Linked DNA regions of Homo sapiens: region 1 is linked to region 2. Evidence: promoter capture Hi-C in 16 types of primary human blood cells and fetal thymus (Javierre and others, 2016). All regions are on one chromosome and are shown on one strand. The core of a region is centred on a gene start or on the middle of the fragment in contact, and the rest is flanking DNA. Distances in the headings are between cores, read along the strand shown.

The links. Contacts are between HindIII fragments. The CHiCAGO score rates a contact against its expected background, and 5 or more counts as called.
Region 1: a contact is called between a fragment that was not itself captured here and the fragment with the promoter of ZZZ3 in region 2, in 3 of 17 cell types (monocytes, M1 macrophages and non-activated CD4 T cells). The highest score is 6.4, in monocytes.

What each region holds. Positions count from the first base shown.
Region 1 is chr1:77,132,151-77,137,057 of GRCh38, reverse strand. All of the region lies in intron 9 of PIGK (phosphatidylinositol glycan anchor biosynthesis class K), which reads left to right. Among named protein-coding and RNA genes, the nearest start is that of MIR7156, 74 kb to the right of the region's middle. The HindIII fragment of the contact is 3,539 bases long and covers 1,609-4,907 here.
Region 2 is chr1:77,679,187-77,684,097 of GRCh38, reverse strand. ZZZ3 (zinc finger ZZ-type containing 3) reads left to right here and starts at 1,440. Exons shown (of 15, transcript NM_015534.6): 1 at 1,440-1,513. RefSeq lists enhancers at 185-284, 1-487, 1,305-1,384 and silencers at 435-494, 505-924. The HindIII fragment of the contact is 10,120 bases long and covers 1-4,911 here.

The DNA.
Region 1 (4,907 bases), core at 2,129-4,628, 550 kb after region 2:
CAAGTAAAATTCAAGGGCTGGAAAAGCAGACTGTATCTTTTCTTAGAAGGAGCTACAAAGTTGTATCTCAAAAAGGTATGAATAGATACAGGAAAGAGTAAAAGATTTTAATGATTTTTGTAAGATTTCTCATACCTGAAAGGAGAATTAGTAAAATAAGATAGATCTAAAGAAATAACTCAGTATGAAATATAGACAGAGAGATGGAAAGTGTTAGGACAGGTTATGAGACATGAAGATAATATTGGAAACTGTTAGCTATGTCTAATTAGAGTTCCAGGGAGAAGAAAATATAGAATGAGCAAAAGGCAATATAAGAGATAATGGCTTATACTTTTGCATTTTGAAGGTAGTTCAACAAATCCAAAGCACAATACAGGGAGTATATACTTCATGTGAACATTTTAGAACTCCCTAAGTACATAAGAGATTTAAAAATCAGTCAAAGAGAAAAATGGCATCTACAATGGGTAACAACTAAGTTGACAGCAAACATCTTTTTTTTTTTTTTTTTTTTTTTTGAGACGGAGTCTCGCTCTGTCGCCCAGTCGCCCAGGCTGGAGTGCAGTGGCGGGATCTCGGCTCACTGCAAGCTCCGCCTCCCGGGTTCACGCCGTTCTCCTGCCTCAGCCTCCCAAGTAGCTGGGACTACAGGCGCCCGCCACTACGCCCGGCTAATTTTTTGTATTTTTAGTAGAGACGGGGTTTCACCGTTTTAGCCGGGATGGTCTCGATCTCCTGACCTCGTGATCCGCCCGCCTCGGCCTCCCAAAGTGCTGGGATTACAGGCGTGAGCCACCGCGCCCGGCCGACAGCAAACATCTTAATAGCAACAGCGGAAACCAAAAGATAGTACAGTAATACCAATAAAGTACTGAGAGAAAATTACTATTAGCTTAGAATTTAAGCTGGCTAAGCTACCATTAAGGACTGAATGAAAAATAAGGACATTTTCAAACATGCAAAAGCTGAGAGTGTTTGGTATCAAAATACCTTAATACCTAAAGGGATGCACTTTTTGAAAAAGGGAAATGAACCAGAAAAGAGGTCTGAGTGTAAATAGGAACGCTGTAATAAATTGGTAAAATGTGAGTAAATTTAAGCAAAAACTGAATATATTTTATAATTATGATGATAATGACAATGACAATAATTATTTGGGGAGTAAGATAAACCAAAGTATTAATGTATTTAATAACAACATTGTGTAAGAGAAGAGGAAGTGATTGGTTAAAGTATTCTGGAGTTTCAGCTTTTTTTTTTTTTCCTTTGGGAAAAGGGTTGTAAATTTTAATAGCTTTAGACAGTGAGGAAAGTATGCAGTTTACATTTTTAGAGTGATTAATAAATGAATAGAAATAGAGGAAATAAGATCAGAAACATTGCAGGAGAAAAAGTGAAATTAAAAAATCAATGAGAAGGCAGTAAAAGGAGTGAAGAGAAATAATGATAATTTTTTAATCACATTTTAAATAAGTGAATAATAATAGTTTATAACAATACTGCATTAGGATAAAAAGAGGCATAACTACAGACAGAAAATATAATGATATTAAATAGTTGAAAATGAAAGGATTACAGGCAACTACTGCTCACCAAAAGAAAGCTTAAATACTTATAGTGTAAAATATATACATAGTACATATACATATATGTGTATACACATAGTACATAGTACATAGAGTATATAACATATAACATTATTAATCATAAGCAAGATAACTAAGTAAAGGTTTATCTCATCAGGAAGAGAAAAGCATGTTAAACTCTTAATTAGTAATATAACCACAAAATATTTAAAACAAAAATTTACATATTTAAAAAACAGGTTGATAAGTTTATCATTATAATGGAATATTTCAGTATTACATTATCAGAAACCAATAAAAGAGCCATCCAAAAGTTTTAAAATTAAAAATGTAAGCAACATAATCAATAAACTTGAGCCAAGAAATTGAACAATTAGGGAATAAGCATTCTCTTTAAGACCAACTGTAATGTTTACAAATATTAACCAATACTAGGCCAAAAGAGTAAGTCTTAATAACATAAGGTGTTGGAATCTTGAGGAGCATTTTTTTTCGGATCACAGTGTAATAGTTATAATCATGAGTAAAAAAGAATTGTTTAAAACATATATTTGGGAATTTGAAAACACTCTTTGAATAATTCTTAGAATAATATTTAAAAACCTATGAAAATTAAAAAAATACTTGGGACTAAGTGATAATGAAAATATCAAAAGTAGTAGTGTACAATTTCTACTTCTGAACAGGATGGAATAATTTGCAGTAGGCTTATGAGCTCACCAAGAACAATTAGGAAAGGCAGATTAAATCGTATTTTTAAAAATATCAGATGTAGAAGCAATGAGGACTGAGAATCTAAAAATCTAGATTTGGGGAAACTTCTCAGAGATGAGCTGAGAATCTGTAGCCAATTTTTCTCTGTAATCATTCGCCAATTCTGGGAGTAGACCAAAGGTTGAGAATCTGGGCTTGGCAGTGGGCCACTGCTAGAGTATAGAGAAATTTCACCAGCAACATTTTTGGTGACTGTGTTAGGCTAGAGTGACATAATTGTCATTCACTCAAAATAACTTTCCTTTTCAAGATATTTGCCTCAATCATATTACCAATTTTCCTTTCAAAATACTTGCCAAATTCTAAAACTAAAGGGAAACTAAATTACTAAGCAAAAAACATCTGATAACCAGAGCTATGAATTTACTAGTCTTGTATTACTGAGGAGATAAACATCTTCAGGATGAGAGCCCCTTAAGAATGTACCAGGTAAGAGGTGACAGCTCTGGAGATTGTGGTGAACTAATGCTGACAGTTTCTAGCCACTTTTTTCTCTTGGGTACACTTGCTTTTTCCGGGTGCAGCAAAAGCAGAAGTCAGCAGACTATGGCCCATGGGCCAAATCTTCTTGTTGCCTATTTTTTAAAATAAAGTTTTATTGGAAAACAGCCTTATTCACTGATTTACATATCATCATGGCTGCTTTCATACTATAATGATTGAGGTGATTAGTTGCATAGAAAAGTCACATACCTCTGCGCTATAGGTGAGAATTTGGGCTTGGCCTCTGATAAAGGGTTACTAACGGGGACAGAGTGATCAGTACAGCTTTTGGCAGTTCAGTGAGGCTGGCATGCCAAATTCTTAAGCTGTGCAGGACAATAGTCCAAAAATGTAAGTCAGAAACCTTTGAAAATTATATTAGAAATCTCTATAGTCTTACTCTCTCTGTGTTGAGACAAAGACCTGCCAGGCTTTCAACTGAAAACCTTGAAGGGCCTCACCATTAGAATAGGGCCACATTAAGGTGTAATGAATTAGTTTTATCAAAATTTTCAGGTGGTCTAAATTCAGCTCAGTCCCTGAATGAGTAAAAGTGATCAGAGTATCACTCTTAACTGCCCAGCAGAGGAACACATGGACCTTCTTAAGTGGAAAATAACACTGTATATAACCTTTCTTAAGTATGCAGTTTCCTACATCCATCAATTAAAAATTACTAGTACACCGTAATCATATACCAAGAGAAAAACAAAACACAGAATATAGAAGCAAACTCAGAAGTGATCCAGAACTTGGAGGTAGTAGACAAAAACTTTAAAATAACTATGTTTAAGATGTTCAAGAAAATAGGAAAAATATTCTTGAAAATAGATGAAAAGGTGGGGAGTTTCACCAGAGCTTATAACTAAAATAATGAACATTCTAATATTGAAAAATATGGTATCTGAAGTTAAGAACTCAATCGATGGCTTAACAGCAAATTGGATACAGAAGATGATAGAATTAGTGAACTTGAAGACAGTACAATAGAAAATATTGAAACTGAAGCACAGAAAAAACAAACAGTACGAGATATGTTAGACACAGAAAAATGGTCCAACATGTGTGTAAATAACATCCCAAACTAGATGACAGATTGAAAATAAGGAAGAACAGACAATATTTAAAGTGATAATAAACATTTTCCTAAACTAATGAAATATATCGGACCACATATTCAGTTAATTCATTGTAAGCAAAATGAATGCAAAGAAAACCACAATTTGCCACATCATAGTCAAAATGCTGAAAAAACATAGAGAACAAACTTAAAAGCCTGACAGAGAAGGAAAGCCTGACATTATCTTTAATACTGACATATTATTACAATCAGAACCATAAAACAATAGAATGACATGTTTAAAGTGGTGAAAGGAAGAAAACTTTTAACCTATCATTCTCTACACAGCAAAAATATCTTACATAAGTGAAGATGAAATCAAAATGTTTTTCAGACAGAGAATTTGTTGCCAATGCACTTGAAATAAAATAAAACTAAATGAAATTCTTCAGCCAGAAATAAAATGATTATAAAGAGAAACAACAAAATTCAGTAAAGAATGAAGAGAGCCAGAATCAGTAAATATATCAATTAAAATAATTGACTATTAATCAGACAAAAAACCCCACCATCTTGTTGAGTTTAAAGTATTCATAGAATTAAAATGTATGACAATAATAAGGTCAAAGGCAGGAGGACAAATGGAGTCAAAGTGTTGTAAGGTACTACTATTATTGAAGAAATGGTAATGTTGAACAGTTTGATTAGACTACCAGGTCCAAGTTGGGTGTTCTAATGTCCAAGGTAATTGTTACGATAATGGTAAAAATACACCTATCAAGTTGATAGCAGAAAAAAAGATGTAATAAAATATTTGGCTGATTCAAAAGAAGAAAAAGGAAATTCAAACAGATGGGAGATAGAAAATAGGTAGTAGTTGTAAATCCAGCTATATCACTTATTACATTAAATGTAATTGGACCAAGTACCCTATTTCAAAGAAAAAAGTCATACTAAATTAAAAACATAACCTAAAAATGTGCTATTTACATGAGACATTT
Region 2 (4,911 bases), core at 191-2,690:
AAGGTCTGGAAGTTGTAACTGTTATGAAGAAATAAAAGCAGGTGAAGAGTTAAAGCAATGGTGCAGGTGTACTTTTTTTGGATACAGTGGTCTGGGCAGCCCTCTGAGAAGGGACCTGAAATATGCATCGAACATCGAGGAGTTAAAAAAAATCTGGAGGAAATGTTCTGCCAGAGAAATCGGCAAGCACAAAGGCCCGAAGTGGTTCGAGCCTGCGTGCTGTGGTACAAGCCAGAGGTGAACGAGGCGAGGCAGAAGCACGATCATAAATACATGTATGGATGTTCTCCTGGCTTGAGACCACAGTGCTAAGGGAGGTGGGGTTTACAAATCTCTCAGGAGGCCACAAAGGGCAGGATGAAGCCGATTTCCAATGGCGGAGCTACGAGGACGCCTTTCCTCTGCTAGGGCCAGGTTGGACGGTTGCAAGGGATGGACTGCAACCCGCCCTCGGAAGACCAAACTTCGCCCAGGGGCAGGGACTGGCCGGGGAGGGCCTCGGCGGCGCCCGACCCGCGGGCGCTGCACGGGCCGCGGTTACCAGCAGGCGGTGTAGTGAGCGCGCCTGCAGCAGCAGCAACAGCAGCAGCAGCGGTCGCCGCCGCCGCCGCCGCCCGCCAGTCCCAACGAGGAGAAAGGAGGGGACCGGAAGGAGCCGCTGGTGCTGCGGGAAGTGGCAGGAGCGGGAGGCGGGGACCCACCTGGAAGCGCCGCGGCGCCGCTATCGAGCTTCCTGCAGCGGTGGCCACCCGAGCAAGTGCCGTGGCGGGGGCGGAGAGCGGCCACGGCGGCGGCGCCTCCCCAAGTGGCCCGTTGCGTCCGACCCCGCGTGAAAGGTGAGCAAGAGCTCGGGACACGTGGTGAGGGCCAGACACGGGGGAGGGAGAATGAAGGGGGAGGGAATGGGGGTGGGAAACGATCGGCTTGGGACCCGGATTTGGAGCCAAGTACCGGGAGGGGGTGGGCTGGAGGCGACGACTGCGACGGCTGCGACGGCTGCGACGGCGAAGCCCCCACGTGGGGCGGGGGTGCGCGCGCACGTGTGCGCGGGCGAAAGGGGGGGCGGGGAGGGCTTTTGGGAGGGCGTCGGGAGCGCGCTCGCTCAGTAGCGGCCCACGTGACGGGCACGCCGAAAATGTTTCCACGTGACAGGGAGGCTGCCTGGGGCAGCGCACTGCGCTCTGTTTATGTAGTATAATCGTGGTAATCGGAGGTTTTTAAGATTTCTGCTTTTCTGTACAAGGGGAAAGGAGGAGACGTATAAAGCGGAAAGACTTCCTACTGTCTCAGTGTTTTAAATGTTCACTACTCCGTTAGTGAAGTGCTTTTTAAGTTCCGAAATACTGATTTTTTTCTGTACCGCCATGTTGGGTCTAGTGGAAGCTCGCGAGATGCGAGTGGGTTTGTATCGCGAGATCTCTCGATTCTCGCGGGACCTCGTTGGCAGAGCAGTTGTCCTGGATGGCGGAGCCTTGGGTTCCGGGGGCCTGGGACCTGCAACTCTTTCTACAAGGCAAGTCGTTAGGGAGGGGCCCGGGGCGAGTGCCTCTTGGTGCCGGGATACGTGCTGCATCAGCTTCCCATAGTCTTGAAGGGAATACAGTAACCCCATTGAGGCAACACTGCCCTCCCCATCCCCCTGCGGGCGCTCCACCACCTGCAAAAGCATATGCACCCCTCAGCCAGGTCCTTCTCCCCACGCAGTGATAGTTCCACCCTGTCCCACTCACTGGAAGTCCGGGAGCCGTGCTCGCGCAGACCTGATGATTCCATTGGATACCGTTCCTCTTACTTTAAGATGTTCTTGTCAGTTTTTCCCTTCTTGCCATTTTCTAAAGTATTCCAGACCGGTTAACTATTGTGTCGCGTTTTCTGCTGCAGTACCTGACTCCAGTCTCCTGAAACAGAACTCCTCCCATCTATTTTCTCTGGGTGTCATTTACTCATCACCCTGACTTCGTATTTTCAGTAACTTTTGGCAGTATTTGGAGGGCCCATTATGTCTCTGACAACACCTGTGGTCAGAATAAAATCCTGCTTTTCATCATTTTGTACGTGCCTATTAACTCAGTTATCGGTAGGGTTTTAATTACTACTGTGTTACTGAGGTTGCCATCTTTGAAGTTTAGGGATGGTTGTTTTAGGTTATATATTTAAGGTAACAGACTGTTTCATGTGATTTTTTTTTTTTTTTTTTTGAGACGGAGTCTCGCTCTTGTCGCCTAGGCTGGAGTGTAGTGGGGCGATCTCGGCTCATTGCAACCTCCGCCTCCCGGGTTCAAGCGATTCTCCTGCCTCAGCCTCTCGAGTATCGAGTAGCTGGGATTACAGTCGCGCTTCACCACGCCCGGCTAATTTTTGTGTTTTTAGTAGAGACGGGGTTTCACCATGTTGGCCAGGCTGGTCTCAAACTCCTGACCTCAAGTGATCCACCTGCCTTGGCCTCTCAAAGTGCTGGGATTTCAGCACTGTACAGGCGTGAGCCACCGCGCCCGGCCTCAGGTCAACTTTTTAGTAAAGAGCAAACTCATAAATTTTGGCATCAGAGTTTGAGCTTTATTTTTCTTAAATGAGTTTGAAATCAATTTAATATTTCTCTCCAATTCCCTAATGTCTCAGAAGTGAATTTACAGTATACCTTTGTTTTTTCGTATTCTTAAGTAGTATTTGGATTTTATTTAGTAGTTGCAGTACTAAATAAGGAGTGGGGAGTTAATTACAAAACGAATCAGGTGACTAGTTAATTTATTCATAGTTTGTTTTTTAAAACTACAAAAGTGTTTTTTTTTCCTATACATAATACAGAGAGGTATATAGTATAGAGTAACACAGTGCTTGTTTCACGGTACCACAAAGTTCCATTCCTCAGTCTTAAATCTCTGTAACCAGCCTTTGTGGTTGCTGTGTATCATTCCAGATATTTCCATATTTTGGTTTAGTTTTTGTTTCTTAAATGAAGGGGAGAAAGTGTTGTTTTAATGGGGTACCAACACAATATTGGCAATCAGTAAACATTTTTTAACTAAATTAAATTTTTATTTAGTGATATATGCCTGTTTGTCAAGACTTACGTATGCATACTTACGCAGATTTTTTTTGTTTGTACTGATTTTTTTGGTAGTATAATCTTGTGAAAATATCACAAGTAACTTATTTTTGCAGTAAAGTTGATTTATTGTGCTTGGTAGCTTTGCACAGAAAGAAAGTACATGTAAAACAAGATTTAAATAAATTAATGTTTTATCACTTGAGTTTTATATTTTTATCTTTAATGTGTGTTATGTATTTAACTTTATATATTATATATTCTAAACTGTAACCTAACTATATAGGAGTTTTTCAGACGTTTTAAAAGTTTATCACTGTGATTAAAATGATAGTTTGACCATGCAACTTAGTGATCTCAATTGGAGAGTGGTAGACATTAGTAGTTAGTACAAACAAAGGTATATATACTTGAAGTTGCTAAGCGGCTATCATTTTGTAAGTGTTGTTTTTGTAATTTCCCCCCGCCAAACCTACCAGTAATAATATTTATCAGACCAGTCACATAAGAGAATTGTCCACTCTTTGGGCAATGTGGTTTTTTGTTGTAACAGTGCAAGTAGAAATGTTGAGGAATAGAAGTGAGTGTTGAGAGGTATGATGTTGGAAAGAGGAAAAGGGGACATTGGGAGTGTAGAGGTTGATACTGAAATGGAATTGGACAAGTTGGGGAGAAAAGAGGAATGTAGAAGGTTGACAGTGAGGCAAGAGCCATGGTGCAAGAATAGTCAGGCTCATAATAGTTGGAGGACAGCCCGAGTCGGTATTTGAGGCAACTTTCTCCTCCTATTCTTTTTTAGATAGTTCTGGGTCTATTCACAGAATTGCTAGATATTTCCTGTCATAAAAGTCAGCAGCTTAAGGTTATACTTAATTGAAACCTTGTGAATTCTTTACTTTAGATAAAGCTATTCTGTTAAATAACATTTGTTAAGTACGTTTTATTATTATTTTTAGAAGTGGGAAATTGTGAAAATGACAATGAGTTTGAAGGTCACAGTTCTACAATGGCCTTTGCAAAGGTATCTACATAAGTTTAGCTTGGTAACTGGGCCTTTAATAGTCCACGTGCATCTGATCTATGAAATAATATATGTTCCTTGTTCTTAGAACTTTTGTTTTATAAACTTTTCAGTATTGGGTCTTGGGAAATACCAGTCTTTTACAGACACGAAATTATTTGAGGTACTTGGTAGAAATATACTGAGAAAAATCCAAGGAAGAGGAAAAATGTATTTTTACATGGTTTGTGTTTGGTTGAGTAAAATTTAAATAACCAAGAAATTTAATTTTCACTTTTCTCAATTATTACGGTCATATAAATGATGAGAGCTAATGAACTTCAGTGATCAGAGGAAACTATTAACAGTGATAATATAATAATACTGATTTATTCTCACTTGAGTTTTTTCCTTAAGGTCTGACACCATGCCAATTTCCACAGACCTGTAACTTTAAGTTACCTTAAGCTGGGCCTGGTGGCTCACGCCTGTAATACAAGCACTTTGGGAGGCCGAGGTGGGAGGATTGCTTGAGACCAGCAACAACATAGTCAGACCACGTTTCTACCAAAAAAGAAAAAAAATTAGCCTGGTAGTGCACGCCTGTAGTACCAGCTACTTGGGAGGCTGAGAAGGGAGGATTGCTTGAACCCAGAAGGTTGAGACTGCAGTGAGCTGTGATTGCACCATTGCACTCCAGCCTGGGCAACAGAGTGAGTGAGACCCTGTGTCAAAAATAAAATAAAAACACCTAAATTTCATATGAAAATTCAGTTTGGAGTCACCTACAAGAAATAGTTGCTAGAAGAGTTTCATTTTTATAGTAGTATTTACTAGAGATTTGGTATATACTCTGGTGCAAATT